Linked DNA regions of Homo sapiens: all the other regions are linked to region 3. Evidence: promoter capture Hi-C in human tissues and cell types (Jung and others, 2019). All regions are on one chromosome and are shown on one strand. The core of a region is centred on a gene start or on the middle of the fragment in contact, and the rest is flanking DNA. Distances in the headings are between cores, read along the strand shown. Region 1 has its middle 410 kb from the start of RORB. Region 2 has its middle 380 kb from the start of RORB. Region 3 holds the start of RORB (RAR related orphan receptor B).

What was found. The method cuts DNA at HindIII sites, captures the fragments that hold promoters and counts their contacts. A contact is called where the count stands out against the background at its distance.
Region 1: a contact is called between a fragment that was not itself captured here and the fragment with the promoter of RORB in region 3, in 2 of the 25 tissues and cell types used here (lymphoblastoid cells and mesenchymal stem cells).
Region 2: a contact is called between a fragment that was not itself captured here and the fragment with the promoter of RORB in region 3, in 2 of the 25 tissues and cell types used here (bladder and lymphoblastoid cells).

Annotation. Positions count from the first base shown.
Region 1 is chr9:74,083,035-74,085,803 of GRCh38, reverse strand. No RefSeq gene overlaps it. Among named protein-coding and RNA genes, the nearest start is that of RORB, 410 kb to the left of the region's middle. RefSeq lists an enhancer at 1-557. The HindIII fragment of the contact is 7,929 bases long and covers 1-2,769 here.
Region 2 is chr9:74,117,813-74,120,818 of GRCh38, reverse strand. No RefSeq gene overlaps it. Among named protein-coding and RNA genes, the nearest start is that of RORB, 380 kb to the left of the region's middle. The HindIII fragment of the contact is 3,224 bases long and covers 1-3,006 here.
Region 3 is chr9:74,495,530-74,498,641 of GRCh38, reverse strand. It overlaps RORB (RAR related orphan receptor B), which reads right to left and starts at 1,307. Exons shown (of 10, transcript NM_006914.4): 1 at 659-1,307. The coding sequence starts at 665. It overlaps RORB-AS1 (RORB antisense RNA 1), which reads left to right and starts at 89. Exons shown (of 5, transcript NR_125791.1): 1 at 89-400. RefSeq lists silencers at 1,075-1,369, 1,274-1,463, 1,459-1,671. The HindIII fragment of the contact is 7,823 bases long and covers 1-3,112 here.

The DNA.
Region 1 (2,769 bases), core at 141-2,640, 410 kb after region 3:
TGAGTCAGGATGAGCCAGGAAAAGGACTTTCACAAGGTAATGTCATCAATTAAGGCAAGGACTGGCCATTTACACTTCTTTTGTGGTGGAATGTCATCAGTTAAGGTGGGGCAGGGCATATTCACTTCTTTTGTGATTCTTCAGTTACTTCAGGCCATCTGGGCATATATGTGCAAGTCACAGGGGATGTGATGGCTTGGCTTGGGCTCAGAGGCCTGACAGGCTCTGCATACCTGAGGATATTTTAAACGTAAGGAGCCATCAATTCCTTGGATGAGTAAAATGTAGCTTTCCTGGATAGAAAGGTCCATGTCAGATGATCTTTGGAGATCTGTGCTACCTTTAGAACTCTCCAAATCATTTCAGTGATCAAGCTAAAAATAAAATAATATTTATATGAATTCTGACTAAGCAGTCAATCAACAAGTTCATGACAAGTATTCTTGTGATTGGTGGAAATGGAGTCAGTCAATATACATTTTCACTATTCCAGTATTCTCAGGAACAGAATTGGGTACATATTTATATTGACCTTGACTTTGCTGCTGGATAAAATCATCTAGGAATATATAATGTATTTACCGATGTGGAAAATTTATAGCATTCTCATTCAAATTTCTAGCCACAATGTTTATAAACTCATCTAGTATCAGTATCTTTCACCAAATCTTGATTACCAGGAAGGTGGTTACTATGCCCTTTACAATATAATAGTGACTAGCAAATTTAGTAGACAGAGTTCAGAGGTGATAAAATTGTTCTCTTTACTATACATATTGAAGAATTGTTTATTTTTTAATAATAATTTGTTTAATAAAAATAAAATTAAATTATAAAAATAAAAGCAAAGGCAAGCATTCAATAATATTAAGTGACATCAAGTAAGTCTTTTGTATAGTTACCTGACTAGAAGGATGTAATTCTTTGATAGCACTGAATATTTCTTACTCTGCCAGGAAGGTGATGTTTCTGAACAGTTTTAGTGCAGTTATTTATACATTATAGATGTTTATTACATTTTTGATAAACAAAAATAAAATTAGTATCATTAAACCTGTTCTTACAAAATTAACATAAAACACACAAACACATCCAAAACAAAAGTTTGCTCCAGCAATTGATAGCAAGAAGTCAATTACATTGATTTTCATTTTCATGATTTCAGATCAATTTCCAATGTTCCTTTTTTTTGTTTTTCTTAATTTAATCTTAGTCACTAGGTAGATACAGCCTTAAATTATAATTCTTCCATTTAAAGGATTCATGACATTTTAGCAATTGAGATGCCTGAATTAGCAAAGTGTAATTGCAGATTTTAGGATTAATCCTAGAGTTTAAAAGCTAAACTTAAGCATGGATCAGTGTTTCCCACTAACTAGTGACACTCTTTTGCCATTCAGTTTTCCAACTGATAGAGAGTGACTATTGCAGATAATGTTTCTGCATTTAAACCCATAAGAATTATTGTGAAAGCAAGCGGAACTCAAGAGAGACCAGGGGGTTGGAGTGAAAGAACCCTTGCAGTGAAAGGAATCAAGGATTGTCTTTAGAACCCATGCTACCTGAGCAACCAGGTCAAAAAACTTCCTCTAATGAAGATCCATCCATTACCATGACATGCAAGCTCTGTCTGTAGATCACTTTCATGGTCTCCAAAGAAGCTGAGCAGTTATCAGTAACATTCAAAAATCCACTGGAAAGTCATTCATTTCACTTTATGGTCCTAATTAGCCATTTGTATAGTTCTATAATTAAATATGTTCCTTTCTCATCAAGTTTTTCACTTTAGTAATGATACAACTGTGCCACAAACAGGCCCCATGCTGCTGGGTTTGGGACTTATTCATAGCATTTAATTGGTCACCCAGTGGTTAGCCAATAACCCCTTCTATGGGAAGCAACACTCTGAATGCTGTTAATGGGATGGAGGCACAGTGATTGCCTCCTGGTACCCAGCAGTACTGGGAATAAAGCAATTTCCTCCACTGTGTTGTGTGCCCAATAGCTAATCCTTTCCACTCCTGAAATGCACACTATTTGGTTATAAGTATTTGTGCTGGCTTACTTACCGCTGGGTTGTTAATAGGCAGTGATTCTTCAATGCTCCTTCAGTGAAGTTACAGTCTGCTTGCTGACTGCTAATTAAAACAAGTTTGCTCTCTAAGACTGTGACTAAAAGGTAGCAAGGTCATCTTATTTAATGCAATAACCTTTTATTTAACAATGTTGATACACTAGTCATATGTGCACATTTTGCAAACTGGCACATCTATTATTGTTTGCTTCAAAAGGACAAAACTGAGCTACTGACTAGTCTGCTTTCCTTTGAAGTGGAATTGTTAAAAATCCCCAGTTCAAGCTTCTGTTATACAGTTGAAACACAAGGCTTGCTGCAGGATTCTATTTACGGTATTTGGGCTTCTGAAAACAAATAGAAAAAAGTCATCTGTACTAACCACAAATGCCTAAGCTATTAAAGTAATACTTGGATTCTATTCCCATGTGTTTTGTTTTAATTATAGTTTGATATATGAAAGGGCATTATAGACTCTACAAATTAGAAAGTAAAACAATCGGTAGATGGCACTTCCTAACCACCTGCTTGGTGTAAATATACATGATGAAGTCTCAGAAATGGTATTCTGTCCAAAAATGGGATTCTGGACAATAAAATAAAAATTGGAGTGACCTGTAACAGAGACAATCATATTTTGGCTTGTATAATGCCCAGATATTTTAATGTCACATCTCATAAAGATCTGGGGAAAA
Region 2 (3,006 bases), core at 347-2,846, 380 kb after region 3:
GGATGCTGTCTTAATATCCAGTGATAAGACAAACCATTTGCTTGTGTCTTGTAGTCTTTCCTTTTCACACGCCACCCTACTCCTGCCTGCCTCACAGCAGTTGATTGTGACATCCTCTCTTTTCTACATGGTTCAGGCCAGCAGATGTGTGCTGCTTCAGTGCTGATGAGCAGGATAGCAACACTTCCTGGGCAATGACCTTGTCATGTGACACGCAGTATGGCTATATGATGCTACGAAACAGCAGCAGCAGGCCAACCAAGCTTGCAGCCATCCAGAATGGCATGATTCATTTTGATCAAAGAATCAAGATGACTTGCAGACTAAGAGAAATAGCTCTAACCTGAAGGATGGTCTTTCTATAAACATCCCAAAAGGTGACATATTCTGGACTTGTTTATTCACATGCACATGAAAAAAATATAGTTGTCTTCTCACTGTTATATTTGAATATAAAAAAGACAACACATGAATATTTGTACTTCTTAATGCCTTTTATTTTCCCTGAGGCACTTTGTGGGATTTCATAACTTATGAACTACATATTCTCCCAAACCTTATGTATGCTTAGTGTGCAAGACAGAGCTACTCGTTCCTTTAGAGACTCAGGAAAAATTACAATGATTTCCTGGATTGCAAAATAGATAAATCTCATGCTTCAAATATATAACTTGATGCTGGGGAGGTTGCAGAGAAAAGGGAACACTTATAAACTGTTGCTGAGAGTGTAAATTAGTTTAACCATTGTGGAAAGCAGTACAGCAATTCCTCAAAGGGCTAAAAACAGAAATAGCATTTGACCCAGCAGTCTTATGACTCGGTATATATGCAGAGGAATATAAATTGTTCTACCATAAAGACGCATGCACGACATGCATGCAAATGTTCACTGCAGCACTATTCACAGTAGCAAAGACACAGAAACAAACTAAATGTCCATCAATGACAGATTGGATAAAGAAAATGTGTTACATTTGGAATATTACCAAATATTATGGAATATTACTCAGCCATAACAAAGAAAAAGATCATGTCTTTTGTGGGAACATGAATGGAGCTGGAGGCCATTATCTTTAGGAAATTCACACAGGAACAGAAAACCAAATACCACATGTTCTCACTTATAAATGGGAGATAAATGATGAGAACACATGGACACAAAGAAGAGAACAACAGACAGTGGGGTCTCTCAGGGGTTGGAGGGTGGGAGGAGAGAGAGAAGTAGAAAAAATAACTATAGCATACTAGGTTTAGAACCAGGGTGATGAAATTATCCATGTAACAAACTCCTGTGATGCGGGTTTACCTATATAACAAACCTGAACATGTACCCTTGAACCTAAAATAAACATTTAAAAAAAACCACACACACAAAAAACTTTCAAACTCCCACAAATTTAGAACTTGCTATACACCCTGAATGTTTGTGTTCCCCCAAAGTTCACGTTAAAGCCTTATCAAAAAGGTGATGATATTACTGGGTTAGGCCTAGTGGAAGATGATTAGGTCTTGGGGGCTCCCATGGATGGGGTTAGTGCCCTTATAAAAGAGGCCTCAGAGAGATGCCTTGCAAGCCCTTCTACCATGTGGGGATCAGAAGGTACGATGTATGAACCAGGAGGTAGAACCTCACCTGACACTGAATCTGCCAAGCACCTTGATCTTGGACTTCCCAGACTCTAAAACCATGAGAAATAAATTTCTGGTGTTTATAAATTACCAGTTTGTGGTCTTTTGTTATAGCAGCCTGAATAGGATAAGACACAATCATACTGCTTCATCAAGAACTTTCAAGAGATAAATAGGAGAAAAAAATGAGAGACAAATAATAGTTTCTTATTAATAAAAGACTAGATATAAGCTTAACAAAGTAAAAATCATAAAGAAAGTACTACACATCCACATTTGGCTTTATTTCCCATCTTTTCATTTACAACGGTATACCATTTTCTTTAGTTTTGTAGGATTTAGCTATTTCCCTTTTAAGACACCTTTGTAAGGATCTTCTTTCCTTCCTACTTTCCTTTCCTCTATCTTCCCTCCTTTCCAATATCCTTTTCCTTTTGTGAAAAACGGCCTTCTAAATTTATCTTGGGTTGGAAAATAAGGCAACTTCATTTTATATTACCTTTGAGATGTGAATGGAAAACACTACTTTTGTCTTGAGCTTAAAGACTTTCATTTCAATAACAGCTACAAAATCAAAACATAATAATTTTTTTAGCTATAAATTGTCTGTCCAGTTAAATAGTGAATTAATATCCTCATCTGAGTTTTCACCCACCAGGTTAGTTATTCTATTTTCTAACCATTTTACTAACTGATAATTGCTTACCTGCTTCATCTTCATCATCTTTGTTATGCAGAACACATTCTTTTAAAACAGCTAGAGCTTTTTCCTATCTTCTGAACACTGTCATTTGGGGAAAAAAAATGTATTATCTAAGTTTGCAATGGCTGTATTAATTTAAGATTCTTCCAGGTTTTATTTAAAGTGCTTACTTTTATGTGCTTTGATATTTAGTGTTTCTGGGATCCATAAAGTTAACTGAAAAGACAAATGGCACTAGGATGTAGTGCTGTGGGTGAAAGGCTATGCCTTAATTTGGCAAAGTGACTTTAAATTAGGCCCCAGTCTCAGTTGGTTCCCCATTATTTTGTTCCATTAACGTGGATTTGGAAAAAACTTTCAAACACCGACTCTTGTAAAATCTTCCACAGCCATCAGATTGTCTCCTTAACAGAAAATAAGAGAAGAAAAATGTCACGAAGAGCAAGGATTATCTTAACCTTGTACTACACTGATCAGAACCCTGCTCGAAGTCAATGATTGTACAACTTACCAGGATAACCCAGTGACTCAGGGTTGCAGAATGCTAATCTTCAGAATCAGGGTCAGAAACAGCACAAGGATTAAAGACATTGCCACTCATAATGAGTGCCAGAGTAAAGGCTGACCACATTTCACTGATATAAGCCACAGAAAACATGCAATTACTTTAGAAG
Region 3 (3,112 bases), core at 58-2,557:
GCGGGCTCGGGCACGAGGACCTGGCCAGGGCGCAGCGCCGGCACGAAGGCGCGCGCCGCAGAACTGTTTCCTCAGCCGCGTGCCGGGGAACTAACTGTTTCCTCAGCCGCGTCCAGCCTCGCAGCACTGCTCTTCTGCTTGCTACTCCAGCGAAGGGACATGCCTGCTGGCCAGGACGCTTAGTGGGCCTCGTAACCTGGCGAGTGTGTGCCCGCGCGTGTCCACCCTGCCCCCGGCCGGTGCGCCCCGCGCGCCCAAACCCGGCCGGCGACCACTGCGCGCCGGGCGCTTCCAAACTGCTCCTGTCCAGAGGCATCCCTCTTTCGGCTTTCTCCATCCCGCGTCCGCTTCCGCACCCGAGAGCGACAAGCAAAAAAGATTCAGTGCAACTCAAGGACTGGTAAGAACCAACTAGCCTGTCTCCCCTCTCCAAAAAAGCGCCCTCCCGCGTCCCTCCAGAACTCCCGAAAGACATCAACACCTTCCCGCAACTTTCTACGCCCAGGCCATTTGCAGCCCCACCTGCGAGAGCGAATTCGGGGAACTGCGCCTGGGCAACCTCTTTCCCTTTCTGCTGGGTGCCCTCCCCTCCCCCATCTCCCCGTCTGGCTGGAGTTGGCCGGACTCGGGGAGCCTCGGTGCCCGCAGACTCGCTTACCTCGCATGGTGTGGCCGCTCTCCCGCTCCGCGTAGTCATGAAGCTGCTCCCAGCCCGAACCCCGGAGAGCCCAAAAATCCCGCTCAGCACGAGTGAAGAAGGTGGTCGGCGAAGAGCTGCTCTGCCGAGAAAACCATCCCTTTAGGCGGACGCCGTGGCTGCAGGGTGACGTTTGCCGCCGCCGCCGCTATGTTAACAGTTTTGATGTTGGTGGTGACTGTTTTGATGATTGTTTGTTTGTTTGTTTGTTTTCAGGAAGGGTGAAAAAAAAATGTTCTGGCTGTCTGGTGCCTGGGTTTTGTTTTGGTTTTGTTTTTCTTTTTCTTTCTCTCCAATGTGCTTGCTTTTTAAAAAATGCCACCGCCTCCGGCTCAGAAGATTTCTTTTGTGATCACTTGGACTGAGGAGGAGGAGGAAGGGCAGCAGCAGGAGGAGGAGTTGGTGGTGGTTTTGTTAGTTACAAAGAAGAGGGAGAAGGAACAAGGGGGAAAAAAGGAAACAGAAAGAAAAGAAAGAAAGGCGGTGTGGATGGCAGAGCATGTGCGTTTTCACATGACATCTGTGCCTGTTAGCGGATCCACAATGTGAATTTTCACTGTTCAGTTACAGGGAGGAAGGGAGCAGCGAGAGAGAAAGAGAGGGGAGAGATGGAGAGAGAGCGCTGAGAGGGGCTTATACGCGAGGGCGGGCTTGGCCGCGACTTCCAGGCCCCGCCTGCTGTCAGCGCAGCCGCCAATCAGAGCCCAGCAGCGCCTGGAGAGGCTGGGACCGCGGGGAGGGGACGTGGTGGAGGCGGGGGGTGGGGCGGGGGCTGGGGACCAGGGAGTCCGAGGTGGCCGGGGCTGCGACGGGGAATTCGAGACTGTCCGAACTGGGCAGAGAAGAAGGGCCGACCGGGAGAGTCGGGCAGATCCGCAGGTGACAGGCACTTCCGACTCCAGCAGAGAAGGGGACACTGATCACGGAAAACCTTCGGAGGCAAGAGACGCGGGGCTCCCCGGGTTTCACGTTCGGTCCCTGTCTCGCAACCCCCGCGGGCCCGGCAGAGTTAGTTTTGAATTTATGGCAGCGCTTTGCCGAGCGCTATTTGGGTAAACTTCGGTCTCCGGCGGGGGTTTCCGTGGGCAGGTGGTTTGGGTGTTGGTGGTAGAATAATGCAAACCCACTTTCATCACTTTTAGCACAACTAAAATGCAGTCCCATGGAAGTAGCTGTCCCCTTCCTTTAAAAACGTCCGTCAGATGCTCCCTGACCCTCTTCTAAAAAAAAAAAAAAAAGAAAGAAAGAAAGAAAAAAACGTGTATATGTTCTTTTGTCTGGGAAATTGATTTTTATTAGCATTTGGAGACTCCCCTGGCGATGGACTACAGGACTGAAGGAGAACAGCTCAAATTGGCGGTGTAGCCACCTTACTAATTCAAGAGAAATGGCTGTTGCTAGAAGGTGTGATTGCAGGGTGCTCTTTAGAAAGGTTTTAGAAGGAAGACATTGTTAACTTTAGTTAGAGGCGATTGGTAACTGAACATAGATAAACTTACTTGTATTCCTTAGGTGAAAATTGTCATCTATGACCATTTATTTGTATTTTGATAAAAATCTAATACATATATCCAAACTGTTCCTTTGCAAGTTTTTCCAACTCAGTTGACAAAATAAGCATATAGATGATTACATCTACTTCCTTCCCAATAGTAGGGAACTTCTTAAATACTTGAGTTAATTGAACACCCTAAAAGATTGGGAGGTGAAAATATTTGCCTCATTCACTCAGTCTTGAGGCTGGGAGATGTCTACTCATTAGCATACCTGTTGGCACAGCAGGCCTCATCATCATTTAAGTATCCAAATAATTTGATTTTTGACTGGTATTTATTCATGATATGTCATGTAACACAAAGTACAATGTAGAATTGGCAGTTATTTAGTTAATTAGGTCGCTCTACACTGCCAAGTAGTTTTTTCCTTCCTGATTAAATGAAAAATGAATTATCTGCTGAATTTTCACCAGTATTAAATTGACGTAGCCCTGCTATATGCCATCCCATTTGCAAACCAATGTGTAATTTAGGAAAATTTTAGTATTAAGAGTGAAAGTTGATTGAGTCATTAATTAAATGAAATGAACAAAAGGAAGTTACTGTTTAGAATAGTTATTCCTTTATAAATATCTTTCTCCTAGATTTGTAATTGACACAGTAGTTAATCTTTTAAGATAATATTTAAGGCTCCCTGGTTTTATCATTTTTAATCAAGTAAAATATATTCATCATAACTATGTTAAAGCTGTACAAAGTTATGCCTAATTTAGTTGCTTCATTAAAAATTACTGAATATAAAATAGTCAAGAAACAAATTGTGACTATATCATTTTAATTTTGTTGCTTCAAGCAGAGACACAAGAATATTGAAAATTCCAAAGGCTTTGTAAACATTGTCTAATTATTATTGTTGTTG